Linked DNA regions of Homo sapiens: region 2 is linked to region 1. The links are contacts of gene promoters, found by promoter capture Hi-C in human tissues and cell types (Jung and others, 2019). All regions are on one chromosome and are shown on one strand. The core of a region is centred on a gene start or on the middle of the fragment in contact, and the rest is flanking DNA. Distances in the headings are between cores, read along the strand shown.

What was found. Contacts are between HindIII fragments. The study calls those that stand out against the background at their distance.
Region 2: a fragment that was not itself captured here is called in contact with the fragment with the promoter of G0S2 in region 1 in 3 of the 25 tissues and cell types used here (H1 embryonic stem cells, heart left ventricle and hippocampus).

The regions. Positions count from the first base shown.
Region 1 is chr1:209,671,136-209,678,809 of GRCh38, reverse strand. G0S2 (G0/G1 switch 2) reads right to left here and starts at 3,398. Exons shown (of 2, transcript NM_015714.4): 1 at 3,261-3,398; 2 at 2,420-3,157. The coding sequence starts at 3,125. The coding sequence ends at 2,814. All of the region lies in intron 1 of HSD11B1-AS1 (HSD11B1 antisense RNA 1), which reads left to right. RefSeq lists enhancers at 2,438-3,286, 5,567-5,806. The HindIII fragment of the contact is 8,087 bases long and covers 1-5,786 here.
Region 2 is chr1:209,561,111-209,568,784 of GRCh38, reverse strand. It overlaps LOC105372899 (a long non-coding RNA gene), which reads left to right and starts at 962. Exons shown (of 3, transcript XR_922537.2): 1 at 962-1,066; 2 at 1,152-1,249; 3 at 1,798-1,837. The HindIII fragment of the contact is 8,724 bases long and covers 401-7,674 here.

The DNA of each region.
Region 1 (7,674 bases), core at 2,149-4,648:
CTTTAGACTGTCAAATGTTCTCTGGAGGGACAAAATTGCTTCTCCTTTCATTTACAATCACTGCTCTAGCCTCATAAATGATTAAACAATCAAGTATTTATTAAGAACCTACTATTTGCCTAGGACCTAATGATTTCTGTGAACACTGAAGAAGACATGGTCCTTTACTTCAAGAAGATTATACTGTAAGAGACATGACCAAGCCCACAGAACAACTGGAAGAAAAAAAGCCCATTACTGAGTGATGTGGTATGAGATTCAGGCTGTACGGCCTATAAGAACTCAGAGAATTGAGAAGACCAGTGAGAACAGAGATTTCAATAGCTCGGATTTGATTGGGTTGGGTAATTTGAATATAAATAGGCATGGGGAATTTCCTTCTACACAAAAACATATAGGCATACTTATATATTTAGGGAACTTTATTTTTTTATGTATAGGCAACCTTTCAAAACATAGGCGTTACCCTCTAAATAAAAAATCATGTAATCCCAGTACTTTGGGAGGCTGAGGCAGGCGGATCATGAGGTCAGGAGATTGAGACCATCCTGGCCAACATGGTGAAACCCCATCTCTACCAAAATACAAAAAATTAGCTGGGCATGGTGGTACACGCCTGTAGTCCCAGCTACTCGGGAGGCTGAGGCAGTGGAATCGCTTGAACCCAGGAGGCAGAGGTTGCAGTGAGCCAAGATTGTGCCACTGCACTCCAGCCTGGTGACAGAGCAAGACTCCATCTCAAAAATCAGAGCACACAATTTTACATGTATTTTGACAATGGGCAAAATACCTGTATTTGAAATCATACCTTCCTTGGAGAATTTGAGGTATGTGGTTTCAGAAGATGTGGAGGTAGTGGGTGGGAGGACATTCGGGTTGGAAATTCGGGTTGGAAGAGTAATGTAAATGAAGGTGCAGAAAACCAGAAGGAAACAGGCAAGGACCAGGGTTCATGCTAGGCACCCTGACAAATCAGGCAAGACGGCCAGCTGTGATGGAAGCACATCACAGAGGCACTGAAACCTGGCATAAGAGTTTTAGTCTCAGATGTTTTTGAGTTCAGGAGCAGCAGAATGAAAGATATTAAAGGAAGACAGTCTGACAAGGGATTGTTTAGGGTGAATGTGCTAGAAGGTGCAGGGGGTGGCTTGAGCGGTTGAGAGCCAGACAAGGTGGTAACTGAATGGGTAAAGGAGTAATTAATAAAAGAGGCATTTTGGAAGACCAGCAGGAAGGATAAAATTGAGTCAGTTCCTAGGAAGTTTCTTGGACATTGAAAGTGAGGCTCTGCCTTGGTATAGGGCTGAATTTCCCATTTTGGAAACTGGGAGAGCCATGGTGCCACTGACATTCTTTTCCTTTAAAACTCCAAATATGTTTCTTTTCCTTGATTAATCTTACCACATTCTGATTGCTTTTTTCCTTTGGGAGTGATAAGAATAGATTTCAGAAAGAGATGGCTTTTGATCAGGGCCAGGAACACTTGGTAGGAATTGAGTTGGCAGAAATGAAATGGAGATGTGTGTAGGGCATTGGACGAAGGAGAGAGTCTGAGCAGAGGCAATGGTGTGAGCCAGTGATATGTTTGGCAAAAATGCATAGCTGTTGATGAAAGGAGTAAAGTGTCAGTACCTGATTAGGACAGGTGACATGAAAAATGTGAGGAGACTAGCATCAAGGCCATGCCTCTGGCTCCTGGCTACTTCTTTAAAGTTTAAAATTTGTTTTGCTGAGCCCTATAGAGTCACTGAATTAGCTATTACTACAGATGAAGCTCTGTACACTGGAGGAGGAGGACTCAGATATGTAACAACCGGTTTTTTTCTCTTTCTAGCCCAGAGTTTCTTACTATGATCTGGATTCGTGGGGAGGAAGGCTGGGTAGAGCTAGACTCATCATCTGCTTTGGTGTTCTTGGGAGCTTATCTCTTTTCCTGCCAGGTAGATAGTTTTTCCTTTCTTTCCTTCCCTTCACCTCCAGACCTCCCTCCTTCATTTTCTTTCCTTCTCTCTGTCTGTCTGTCTAAAATATAGTTGGGAAGAAAAAGGTATCAGCCATGGGAACCTCTGGTGCACAGGTGTAAGGAACAAAGAGCTTTTCTGCCTTAGAATTAATCAGTTATCTCCTACTCACTGTAGCTCAGAAGTTGATCTACCTTTTGATGTTAAAATGCTAAATCTCACGGAAGTTATAAAATTTTCTCTCTTCCCACCCCTAACAAGAAGGAAAAACAAGTCCTCAACAGACTTATATGCATGTAGTAACTTATTACACAGTTCCTAGGTGTGAAGCAAGTGTCTGACCCTCAGGAAGCTGCTCCCTCTGCAGTGCTCAGGTAAGAACCCATCACCATCGCCCACCTGCTCACCCTCCCTGCTTCCCACCCCAGGACACCACACCTCTCAGGAATTACATGAGATATGGTATAAAAAGTTTTTTTATTTCAAAATGCAAAATGGTGGTCATTGTAATAATTAATAATAATAACATAAAAAGCATTTATCCTTCCTCCCTAGTGCAAAATGGTAGACGCATTTAGATAATTCACACAGTGTTGGAAATGTCATGACAATGCAGTGCTGCACAGCAGCAAAACTCAATCCCAAACTCCTTTGGTGGATGCTTGTGGTAGGTCAGTTCTAGATGTCAGCGGTTTCTCTGAAGTTAAGTCCAAATAAAAAACAGCACGTGCTCCTGCACTCTCCCAGCGGAGTCAGGCTCCTGTGCGCGCGCCCCCTCTGTCTCTCCATTCCTCTCTCGGTCTGTCTCTGTCTACTGCGTCTCCCTCCCACTCCGCTGGTCTCCCACAGTTCCTAGGAGGCGTGCTGCCGGTTGGACAGGGCCCGGCCGCCGAGGACCGTGTCCTGCTGCTTGCCTTTCTCCTGCAGGGCTTGCTTCTGGAGAGCCTGTCGCTCCAGGGCGGCCTGCAGCTCCGCCACGGCTGCCTCCTGGTCCCGCAGACGTCTGGCGGCCGTGAAGGGGCTGCACACAGTCTCCATCAGGCCGAGCACCACGCCGAAGAGGGCCAGCACGCTGCCCAGCACGTACAGCTTCACCATCTTCCCCTTGCGCTTCTGGGCCATCATCTCCTTGGCCAGGGGGATCAGCTCCTGGACCGTTTCCATCTCGGCTCTGGGCTCTCGGAGGCGGGAATGACCTGCAGGAGGAGCAGCAGGAGAGGGGCTTCAGCCACCAAAGAACGGCTCCCACCACCCCGCACCCAGCTAATCTTGGGGAGGGCTCATAGAAAGGCGGACTACCTTAGTGGCACGGCGCGAGCAGGAGGCAGCGCGAGCTGCAGTTGGCAGCGGTCAGCGCGTCCGTTGGTCCGACCGACCTCAGCGTTCTCCTCCTCTCGGCAGCTGCAGCTCTCCCAGTTGGAGACTCCGCCGCTGGCACCGCTTTAGCGTCCGGGGGCCGCTTATATCTTTTCTCTGAGACACGCCTCCTGGGCTCTCCGGCCCAGGCCAGCGCGGTCAGAGCCAGGGGAACTCGGAGGGGGAGGAAGAAGAGGAGGGGAAAAGGAGGGGGTGGAACCCGGCTGGGACCTGGCAGGAGGTGGCCACGCGCTGAGCACGCTCCGACTGTGTGAGCTAGGGGGCCCGGCGCGGGTGCCATCGCAGCGGGGCGCGTGGGAAGGCCAGTGTGCACGCGAAGGTCCCACTCCAGGCGAGCGCAGGGGAGGACCCGGAGCCCAGGGAGGTGTCCGCGGACATCTCTGACATGGCGGCAACCTTCTTACTGGTGTCAGCGGGTGCACAGCTTCCCTTGTCCAGGACAGCCTGACATTATAAATAATGAGGGAATTTGGGGGTTCCATCTAAAGAAGAAAGCTTTCATTTTTATTCGGAAGGGTTGTCACCTTCCCACGTGTGTGGCAATGGATCAGAGAGGAGAAGGCAAGGGGGAAGGATCTGGGTAACAGGACAGAACAGGTTACGCTTGGATAAAGCAATATGTGCTAATATTGTTTCTTTCCTGCCTGGTTGGTTTTATTTAGAGGTACATGCATGTATAACTAGAGTCAGTTGATAGAAAACTATTCATTGATGGTGCTTTTATGCACAGAGGTGTGTGTGTGTGTGTGTGTGTGTGTGTGAGAGAGAGAGAGAGAGAGAGAGAGAGAGAGAAAGAGAGAGAGATTAGTCTCTTTGCCTGCGAGCTGTTTCCTTATGTACTTCCGTGTATCAGGGAAGAGCCTTCAAATTCAAATTGTTCTCACTTCCACTTGAGAAGTGGAGTTGGGAGCTTGGGGGTAGGGGGTCAAGTATGGAAGGGGCTGTTGGTAGAAGTTCATCTGCCATTTTAGAATGGAAGTATTTCATGCTCTCCTCAATAATTCTCTGCCACCCTCCTGGGTTTGGGGGTACAACTTCACTGCTCCAGCTCAACTTCAGCTTTGAAGCAGTTTGTGGGCAGAAGGGCGTGTAGTAGACAGCTTAGGTAAGAATCCAGAGTGTGAGTACTCTTGGACGTGTGAAGATGTAGGATTGATTTTGACCAGGGTTAGCTGTAATCACCTGGGGCTGAGGGAGCGTTCTAGTTTGGCTTTGGTTATGGATATGCTAGAGTTAGCAAACTTGGGGAAAAAGAGAGGCAAATTGGCCAAAGGGTTAGCAAACTTGGGGAAAAGGAGAGGCAAATTGGCCAAAGGCCTTTAAGCAGAGAAAGGGAGGGGGCAGGGGAAAGAAGGGGAAATCAAACTGGCCAGAAAATTGCAAAGGTCAGTGATGCAATCTTGCAACAGCCTTTGCAGTCGGTCGGACTGAGCCCTGAAGGGCGGGTCGGGGGAAAAGGCTGTCTCAGGGATCAAATATTTTAGTTTTTGAATTGTTAACAGTAATCTTTCTTTGGGGGTCTGAAGCAATTTCTCAGATGATTCAGTTTAAAAAGGCAGCAATAACAACTACCCTTTGCCTTGACTATTAATAGTTCAGGCAAGGGCTTGTGTGTGGAGAATGGTCAAGGTTATCTAAATAGCTTATTTGAAATTCTATGTTTTAGAATTTAGTCTGAGTGAAGGTGACCAGGGGCCAAATAGAATTGATTATTCCTGGAGGACTGTGTTTCCTGCTTATTGTTCTTTTAACCTTGTCAGGCAGGAAAATTCTGTAACAAGGGTTCCTGCCAAGTTTAATATCAGTCTTGGCATTTTCTTTGAATCTTCCTTATAGTTTCAGAGCAACCTCTGATAACTGGCAGAAATGATTAGTGAGCTTTCCCAATATCTGTGAGGGTTCCAAACCCATTGACTTCTGGAAGAGCATGTGATGTGTGCCCTGATATAAGGGCTGTCACGTGGTTTCCATTCTGAAGGTGAGTCAGCCTAGCTTGGGACCCAAAATTCTGAAATTGACTGGTCCAGTAAGCATTTCCTGTGTTTCTGTAACTCAGAGACGCAAACCACACGTCTTCCTAGGTCAGAAGGCTGTAATTTACCTGGGGTTCCCCTTTCCTGTGATTTGCTGTGTTAGTGCACATCACCAGCTCAGTTCCTTTTTTTGATAATTTGACTTTGACCTCCAGGTTCCAGCAGCTATATTGGTAAGAGCTGGACAGAGGAGGGGCAGCAAGTGCCATGGACGGAGGTCACTGGTAGACTTGATCTTCCTAGTTTAGGTGGTAGCTGGGGCTGAGCAGGAGATGATGGGAGTAGAAGGCTAAGGAATCCAGTGTTAACTCATGTCTAGGAATTTCTGAGTGCAGCTCCTCTGTCTGGGTGGGAAAAGAGAACCTGGCTCCTAGGGTAGAAGGTGACTAGGTAGGGCTTGGAAACTAAACATATATTTTAGTGGGGCTGATGTCATTTTTAGGGAAGTAAAGCACTGTGTTGTGTCATGCATGCAGGTAAGATACAGGTTATAGCGATGATGGTCAAACCAAGCCATAGGGTGACCAACCATCTTATTTTGCTCAGGGTTGAGGGGTTCTCTGAAATGCAGGACTCCTGCTAAAACTGAGCACTAAAACTGAGATACTTCCAGGCAAACTGAAACACTTCCAGGCAAACTGAAATAGTCATCCTACCCTTGAGTCTATCTCAACATTTAACTCTTGCCACTTCTAGGAAGGTAGGAAGGACTAGTTTAAAATTTTTATATTTTGCTTTCTAAATCCCTTTCTCTCAGACATTAAGACATTCAGAGCCATCTGCAGAGGGTAAAGTCACAAAGGGGTGCATGTGTTTCAAGGGTTAAGTGCAGAGGAGGGATAGAACTGTCCCTACCCCTCTGCCTTGGGGATTGAAGACACAGGGGAAAGAGGTCTTTTGGATGGTTAGTTGTAAATGAGCTTCAATAATAATTGTTATTGTTACAATTATTATAATATAATAATAACAATAATAATTATTATTTTGTTACCGGCTGCTTGCTGCCTACACAAAGTCACTGCCCACCCCTGGGGCTCCAGGCAGCTGAAGGGAGGGAGTCATCATAGGAGATATGACAAAACTATTTGTAGTTTTAAGACTACCGCACTAGAAATTTTTTTTAGACCCTTAGTTACTTTCATAGTTTTAGAAAGGAAGTTGCTTATCACTCGGATATCAGTGGAAGACACTGAAATTTATATGTGTAGCCACTGTCTCCTCTGGTCTTATAGACTAGAGTTCTAGAGTCTAAATATTTCTGTGTGGATACACTGCTATTATCACAGCTTGACACACTTAAAACAAGACTCCTTACCTTCTCTATACTCTTACAAGCTAAGTCTTCTTCTCAATATCCTTATTTCTAGCAGTGACATCTCCGTTTCATTTGTTCTCTGGGCTTGAAATATCATGGAAGTTATTTGGAGAGGCCTTCCCTGACTACTGCATCCCACCACTCTCCACCCAGTGCCCTACTTTCTTTTTCTTCATAGCACTTGGTTACCTGATTCTATGTGGATGTACTTAATGGTGTGGTTTTATATTGTCTTCCATGTGCGTTGGAGGATAGGCTTCATGAGGATAGGGACTTTGGTTTGCTCCTCACTGTGTCCCCAGTGCCCAGTATAATTCTTAGCACATAATAGGTCCTTAATGGGTAACTATGGGATTAATGAATGGCTTTTCCATGGACTGTGAAGCCTGGCAGGGAAGGGACTGTTTTTTGTTTGTTTGTTTGTTTGTTTTTGAATGCAGTCCAACTTTTAGTAGATGCTTAAAGAAGCATTCAGGTTTTTGAGGGGACAGTTTTTTTGCTTTTAATCCTTTCTCCTCTAATCCATCTTAAACACTACCACCAAATGAATCTTCCTAAAATTTAATTTTTTATTGTCAACTGCCTGTTTAAAGGCCAAGATCATTTCTCATTGCCCACATAATGGACTCCTGGATCCTGCATGTTGAATTTGCTTGATTTAGTATTCTTGGAATTCAGGCTCTCTATGGTCCGATCTTCTCCTGTTCTTCTCCCACAATAGCCCTTTGCTCCACAGAGAGGTTTCTTCACAGGCCAAGAAACAATTCATTCGCATTGCTGCTGCTTCATTTATTTTTGCTCACACAGTTGTTTCTACCTGAAATGCTGTCCTCTTTCTACTTTGTCTTCCTTTCTTCCTTGAGGTCAAGTTCAATTTCCTGTGCTCCAAGAAGCTACCACTGCCCATGGCAGCACACCTTGATCTCTCCTTTCTGTGAATTTCAGTTGCCTTTGGGGCTTGTACTCTACAGGCTGGCACTGGATGGAT
Region 2 (7,674 bases), core at 3,513-6,012, 110 kb after region 1:
ATAGAGCAGAACAGTGATTTAAAACATGGACTCTGGTGTCAGACTGGTTGGATTATAATCCCAGCTGTGTCTCTTATAGCTCTATGACCTGGGTGAGCGATGTAATCACACTTTGCCTCAGTTTCCTCATTTATAAAATGGGTATAAATGGTACTTACCATGTAAGGTTATTGTGAGGGTTAAACGAGTTGATACACAAAAACTACTTAGAACAGTTCCTGGAACATAGTGAGCACTCAGTAGTTATTTTCTGTCATCATCATCATCATCATCATCATAAATGACCAAGACTTATGAGGCCAGATATTTGTTCCCGCTAACCACCACCCCATTTTGCTGTGATCACACATGTTCTTGAGAGTGAAAAGAGATATGCTTGCTTGGTATGGTTGACAGTACTGTTCCATGAAAGGGCCGCATGTATAAGGCAACCTCCAAATGCAGAAGGAGCCAAGTAACCAAAGAAAGAGGCAGACAAATATAGTTTGTCAGTTTTGAATGATTTATTATGGGGAACTTACAGGCAGAAGCAAGGTCTTGGGTGGTCCCAAGACAGGTAGATCTCTGCACCACAACACCCCCCAGACCCAGGGCTTATATCTTGAAGAAAAAGCATACATGCTCTGGAAGGGATGTGTAGATGGCTATGGGTGTCACAGCCTTTGATTTCTGCAACTACAAGGGTTGTTTTGGAGGAAACTTACAATGAATAGATGTTCCTACATAAAGAGTAATACATCAACTAGACATTTTGGAGGCATTCCTGGACTCGGGGTTAGTCATAAGTTACATGATGAATTACCATTTAAAATAAAGTCATTCTTGTCCCCACAAGTACAAGCATTCACCAACATCCAATCCACTTCTTCTAGAGACATGGAAGACTCCTGCCTGGAATGTGGGCAGGGCCATGTGAGTAGCTCTGGTCAGTGAAATGTGAGTGCATGTGGCTTATATCATCACTTCTGGGCTGAGACAGTTAAAAGCCCACACATGATTCTTCAGTTTCTTTTCCTGTGCCACAGCAACCAAGAAGGTCACATGTTCCAGAAGCTGCAGCTATAAGGTGGGTGGGGGGACCTAAGTGGGCCTGGGCTCTTGAGTGACTATGTGGAGCAGAGCTGCACTGACTCTTTCTTATCCATGGGTAGCACAAGCGAAAAATAAACTTCTGTGGTGCAAAGTCACTGAGATTCAGGAGTTGTTGCCAAAGCGGAGCCGAGCTCAGTGGTTCCCAGTCTGGTCCCAGGTAAGTATCGGGGGATGTTTAAGAGATGCAAACCCCCAGGCTTCACCCCACGCAAGCTGAATCAGAGGCTGAGGATGGGGCCAGAGTCTGGGTTTTAACAACTCCCTCAGGTAATTCTGATCTAGCTCAGGATTGAGAACCACAGCTGTAACTGATCTTGAATGAAACAGGTGCCAGAAGCCTGAGGTGAGATCTCGCTCTGTCAGCTTCCAGTTATACAGGGAGCTTGCCCCAGAGGCCACCAGTGTTTGGGATGATCCATTCTGCTTTACTTCTTTCCTTTGGTAGAGATATTTAAACACTAAACACCTGAGAATATTTAACTACAAATATACTGATGTGGTTTGGCTCTGTCCCCACCCAAATCTCATTGTGAATTGTAGCTCCCATGATTCCCATGTGTTGTGGGAGGGACCTGGTGGGAGATAATTGAATCATCGGGATAGTGTCCCCCATACTGTTCTCACGGTAGTGAATAAGTCTCAATAGAGCTGACGGTTTTATAAGGGGAAACCCCTTTTGCTTGACTCTCATTTTTTCTTTGTTAGCCACCACGTAAGATGTTCCTTTGCTCTTCCTTCATCTTCCACCATGATTGTGAGGCCTCCCCAGCCATGCTGAACTGTGAGTCAATTAAACCTCTTTCTTTTATAAATTCCCCAGTCTTGAGTATGTCTTTATCAGCAGCGTGAAAACGGACTAATACATATACTAAGGCCCAAGCTACTTACCTGAAGTTAAGAAATCACCTGGAAATAGGTTCAGTTGTAGCCTTAAGAAGGTGAATGCTTTCTAGATCTTCCCAGTTATGTCTGAAACCATCAGGTTCATTGCGCTCTTTCTCATTCTTTGCTTGACAGCCCCTCTCTGAAGCAGAAAAGAAAGAGTCTGATGATCCCTATTTCACAGAGGAGGAAAGTGAGGCTCCAGGCGGTCAAGTTATTTATCCACAGCCTGGAGACATAGCTTTGCCCTGCCTACAGCCCTAGTGCTGCACCTCACACAAGCAGTACTCAGTGAAAAGTTGTAGAAAAATGAAGATAAAAGACATTTGCTGGCCTCACACATTGCTTAATTGTCTGAGCTTGTCTGAGTCTCAGTCGGGTGCTCATTGCTGTGCCTGGGCGGGTGCCCCAGGAACTAAAGTTGAGGGTGGAGGCAAAGCTAAGGGTAGACACGGGAGGGACAAAGCAAAGGGCTGGGAAGGAACAATCTGATCCAGCCCTCTCTTAGCCCTTTGCAAGGCAGAGCCGTCCCAGAGAAGTGAGAGCCTGTAGTCAGCAGGGGGCAGTGTTGTTCTAACAAATACCTTAATAATGGCTGGTGAGAAGGCTGCCCGCGCATCTAAGCTTGGGCAATACTGATGGGATTGAATTGATCGAGGCCAGAGGATCTGGTCCCTTGGAAAAACAAAAACAGCGAAAAAGATGGGCACCTATATACCCACTATCTATATTGGGCATTTTCTGTGAAATTCTTTCAATTTTTCTGTCTGGAAAATGTTATAATAAAATTTTGGAAGTAAAAAGAGGATGGAGCCCTCCTAGGCTGCGCCTGTCTCAGCCCTGCTGCTGCGGTTGGTGCACCCATCTGGGTCCAGACCCATAGCCACTGGGGGCAGTGGCATGAGTCTTCACGGAGCGTCTTATTCTTGATACTCATCGTATTCTCCCTGCCCAGAGGTATGCTCTGCCAGCTCTCTTCTTTGCTTGCTCCTTTTTCTCCTCTGCTATTTCTCCTTCTTCCCGTCCCCCTCATACTCTCTCCTGTACCTCCATATCTGACTGTGAGTCAGGTGGATGGCTCATGAGTCAGCAGGGCCAGTACTGGGGATGTGAGGGGTTAGGTGTGAAAGACACAGCAGATCCCGTCCCTTCGGAGTTTATAGTCGTGGAAAGACAGACCCACAGAGGCAGAACTTAGAGAAAGAAGACAGGAAAGCACTGAAATCATGTTCTCTGGGCCATAGGATACATGCAGGTTTCAACCTCGATTCAACCTTGGCAAAGGCTCTCTAGTTGTTCAGGACTTCCCCATCATGAGCTTTCTGGAAGGCACCTCTTCCATGTCCAAACATGCTGCAGGGTTTCGCGAGATAGAGCCCATCCCTATACCCAAGAGACAAGCAGTGGATTTCTTGATTTGGCTGTGAGGGGGCAGCTCAGCTCAGCTCATCCAAGAGGTCTCACATAAGCCTTCTTGTGGTATTCTATAATCCATTCTTCCACCTACCTGAACCATTCCAAGGCTCTGTGACCCAAGGATGACCCAGATTTGAGTCCAGCCTCCTAGTACCACTCCATCCACAGGTGGAACTCAGCCAGGTTCTAAATCAGCCCGGCTCCATGACCCCAGATACTAGCTTAGCCTTCTGAGAAGGAAGCCATTTCCTGCTGCTCTGCTGCCAGGAGCCAGGATGCCCCATCCGGAACTGGGTGTGGGGAGATGAGAGGCACCATTAGCAGCCATGGCTACACTGGCATTAGGAGATTAATGAGGCTTTTTGAATAACAAATGTAGCTTCAGCCAACTGTTGGCAATTAGTTAGAGCAAAGCCATGCTGTGCTCTGACTCTGTCAGCTGGGACCTCCAAAGGAGCATTACAGCAGGAAGGACTAGACCGGGAGGGAAAGAGTTGAAATTCTACCTTCCACATTCCAGGCCGGCCCTGTAGGTGTACAGTGACCCTGGGCTAAGTCTTCTCGTAACCGTCTTTATCTGAGATCATGTTGAGAGACATGTAAAGCAATGAGGGGCCTTGAGAGATCATTTTGTCTACCAGCCTGCCTCCACTCAGGACCACACAGCAGTGCTTCTCGAGGTTTAATTTGTATATAGGTCTCCTTGGAACCTTGCTCCCAGGTGACTGCTGATGTTGCTGGTCCAGGAACTACTTTGAATAGCAAGACCCACGAGAGAGAGAGAGAGAGAGAGAGAGAGAGAGAGGACAGAGAGACAGAGAGAGGAGAGAGACAGAGATGTGGGCAGGGGAGCATGCTTTGGAGCCCAGAGCACATTTATTTCATTAAGTTGAGATTTTAGTCTTTATAATTCATTCATCATTTACTTCATCATTCATTCAACAGCATCTACTCTGCTAGGCAACTGAATTCACATGTATTGGTACAGAGAGAAGGGTGAAAATAGTTTGGAGTAACCAGAGAGTCTCCTGGGACAGGAGGAGAAGCCTGGGGAAAGCAGAGTGGGTGCAGGACTGGGCCCCCAGGGTGGGCCTAGCTGCAGGCTAGCAGATGCTGCTGTACTCCTCCCTTCCAGGAAGGCCCTACCAAAGCTGCAGTGACTACAGGCCCAAAGCCAAGGCACACAGTGGACAGGGAGAAGTAATGCTCACATCATCTTCTCTTTAAGAAAGAAAATGCATCTTAAAAGCAGTAGGAGCTAATTTGCTCTTCTGTAATCAATCACCCAGTACAGGAAATAAAAACACAGGGAGATTCTAGGCAGGCAGGCAGGCAGGCAGGGGGACTCTGTAGAGAGGATGGTCTTCACTTCATGGGTTTAACAAAATAAATCTTAAGGACATGTGGCATGAACATGTGTATGTTTGGGTATGAGGAGGTGTGTATGTGGAGGGCCATGTTTAAAGTGGTGCCAATCTTCTCCAGGCTTCCAAACAGTCTCGCCTCATCTTGCCTGTCTTTTGATCTATATGTGGGTAGCGGGGAATTATTTCAATTAAGGCTTCTCTGAGCTCTTACCTCTAGAAAAGGAAAATGGTCATGTGCGGTGGCTTACACCTGTAATCCCAGCACTTTGCGGGGCTGAGGCTGGTGGATCACTTAAGGTCAGGAGTTCAAGACCAGCCTGGCCAACATGGTGAAACCCCATTTCTACTAAAAACATAAAAATTAGCCAGGTGTGCTGGTGCATGCTGTAGTCCCAGCTACTCGGGAGGCTGAGGCAGGAGAATTGCTTGAACCTGGGAGGTAGGGGCTGCAGTGAGCTGAGATTGTGCCACTGCACTCCAGCTTGGGCGACAGAGGGAGACTCTGTCTCAAAAAAAAAAAAAAAAGGGAAAAACATCCAGATGTCACCCTGGAAACAAGGAGCTTAGATTTACCTCCACCTTTCAGCTCATCGCTGGCTACCTTCTGTTCCCTCCCGAGCCTTGGCTTCCCTGTCTGTAGAATGGGGAGATTCTCACTCTTCCCTCTCTGTCCCACACCACTGAGGTGAGGAAAACGACAGTGTTACTAAACCTGGTGTAAGGTAAGCTCCAGGGGAACCTAGTGCTTGGGCTATTTCCATCTGAGCCTTGGGGTTGGGATGAGAACAGCCCACGACAGTGTTAGACGGTGGCTGTGGAAACAGCACCCCTTGGGAATGCCATACGGTGTGGCACGCGTTTTCTAACTGTTCCATCCCCACTGCTCAAAGAAGTGCCCCAGCCAGGTCCCTTTCTCATTTGCTGTCTTTCCTTCCCTGTCTTTTCTTCCTTTTTTTCTCCCTCTCCCTCATACTGTTTCTTTTATCCCTGTATCTATTGTGACTATAGTTTCCAAATTAAAAATTTGGACATAGCCTGACAATACATCAGAGTATTTGAGACATGGACATCCACAGGCATTCTGGGATGGGTGAGCTAAACACCCCTCTCCATGTGCTGCCTCCTCTGCCTGTGTCTGCTCTGGGCTCCAACTCCACGGTCATATGACAACATGTTGGGGTCAATGTGATGCCAAATGCCCAGATGTTTAGAAATATCCGGATGGTAGATTTAATGTTTACTGTTTTGTATATTCTGAGTGCCCTGTGCACACAATTCAGTAAAAACAAATACATGAATAAATTTTAAAAACCTCTGCAACCCAAGCAGTGAGTTGTTTAGCATCTTGTCTTCAAAACAAGTGGTAGAGATTGGGTTTTTTTCCTTCCTCCTGGCATTATTTTGGTGGTATCCAATGCAGACTTCATATAAGCCATCTCTGACCAAACTCTCTGAATACCTTCCTAGGAAGAGACTCTTCTATGCAAAGAACCCCATTGTTTGGTTTCCTGAAGCCACATGGTCTGTATAACAGTGAATGTGGTCCCTGGTTCAAATCCCTACCACATCATCCATCTGTCCATCCACCCACCCACCTGCTTTTTCTTCATTCCTTCCCTCCCTCCCTTTTCCCCTTGCTCCCTTTTTCCCTCCTTCTCTCCTTCCAAACTTATATGTCCCCTACACACCCTGCACTGTGCTAGATACTGATCCTTGTCTGCTAGGACTCGGGGTTTATTGGGTAAGACAGACATGCACACAGCAGTTGTAGAACATGTTCAAGTGCAATTCTTCCCCAGACCTGTCTCCGGATATTTTCACCTTCTCTTCCTGACTTCATGTCCCATGCCCCCACCAGCTTCCCTGCACCCCCTGTGTTTCCAGGGTGGGAGCTCAAAACATATTAGAGAAGAGCCACTCCTTTGTAGCAGGGAGATTTCCTTCCCAAACACATGTGGGTGTCTAGAAGAAAGAGAGATTTATACCCACAAGTTTGAATGGTGTCCTTTTCTCTCCTCTCTCTCTGGAACACCTAGTTCATGTTTCCCCACAGAACAGCAGGCCTCCTGCCATGGAAGGCAGCACCTCTCATCTAGGGTGGGGGATATTTCTTCCTGCAGAATGTCCTCCCCTTGCATCCCCACCCCCACGTGGGAGCAGATGGACAGGGGGACGGAGCCAGTTGTTTGTTTCAGTTCTGGCTGGTGTCGGCCTGGTGGGAGAGTGTAACCAAGAAGAGAGAAGGCTTGTGGCTTTGGGAGCTTAATTAAACATATTTACAAAGTCCAGGCCTGGTGAGCTAGTGAGGAACAATGAGACAGAGGATGGTATTGCATTATAAGATTAATAAACCAATTAAAGAAAGACTGCAGTGGCCTGGTGGCCCCACTGGGGCAGAAGGCGAATTTGACAGCTGCTCTTTTTTGATGATTGCCACAAATTTCGGAAGAAAAGACAGCCTGGGCTTCCCCTAGTCCACGAGAGAATACCCCAGGCTGTTGTCCTGTCTAATCGCTCAGACTGCTAGTCAAGTTGTTTTCCAAGCCTGTAGGTTGGATGTCATGTTTAGTCAACTGGGGGAAAACAACAACAACAACAACAAAACCCCAACAAAACAAAAGCTACTTCTTCTCTAATCCTAAAAAAAAAAAAAAAAAAGCACACACATGAGACCATTTATATTTTCTCGGAACGCACCATTCCCAGGAAGAGTGGGATAGGATAGGCAGGGGAATTTGGGGAGCTCCTGCAGGCAGTTCACAGAAGAGCCTCGCTGGGGAGGGCCTGCCTCCCGTGGGTCTGTCTCTTGCCCGTTCTATCAACGTTAGCATGCTGCTCCACAGCTCTGGTTCTCTTGTAATCAGATTACTGTTAGAATTTTTGCACATGTTACATTATGTTTAAATGACTGCCCCTT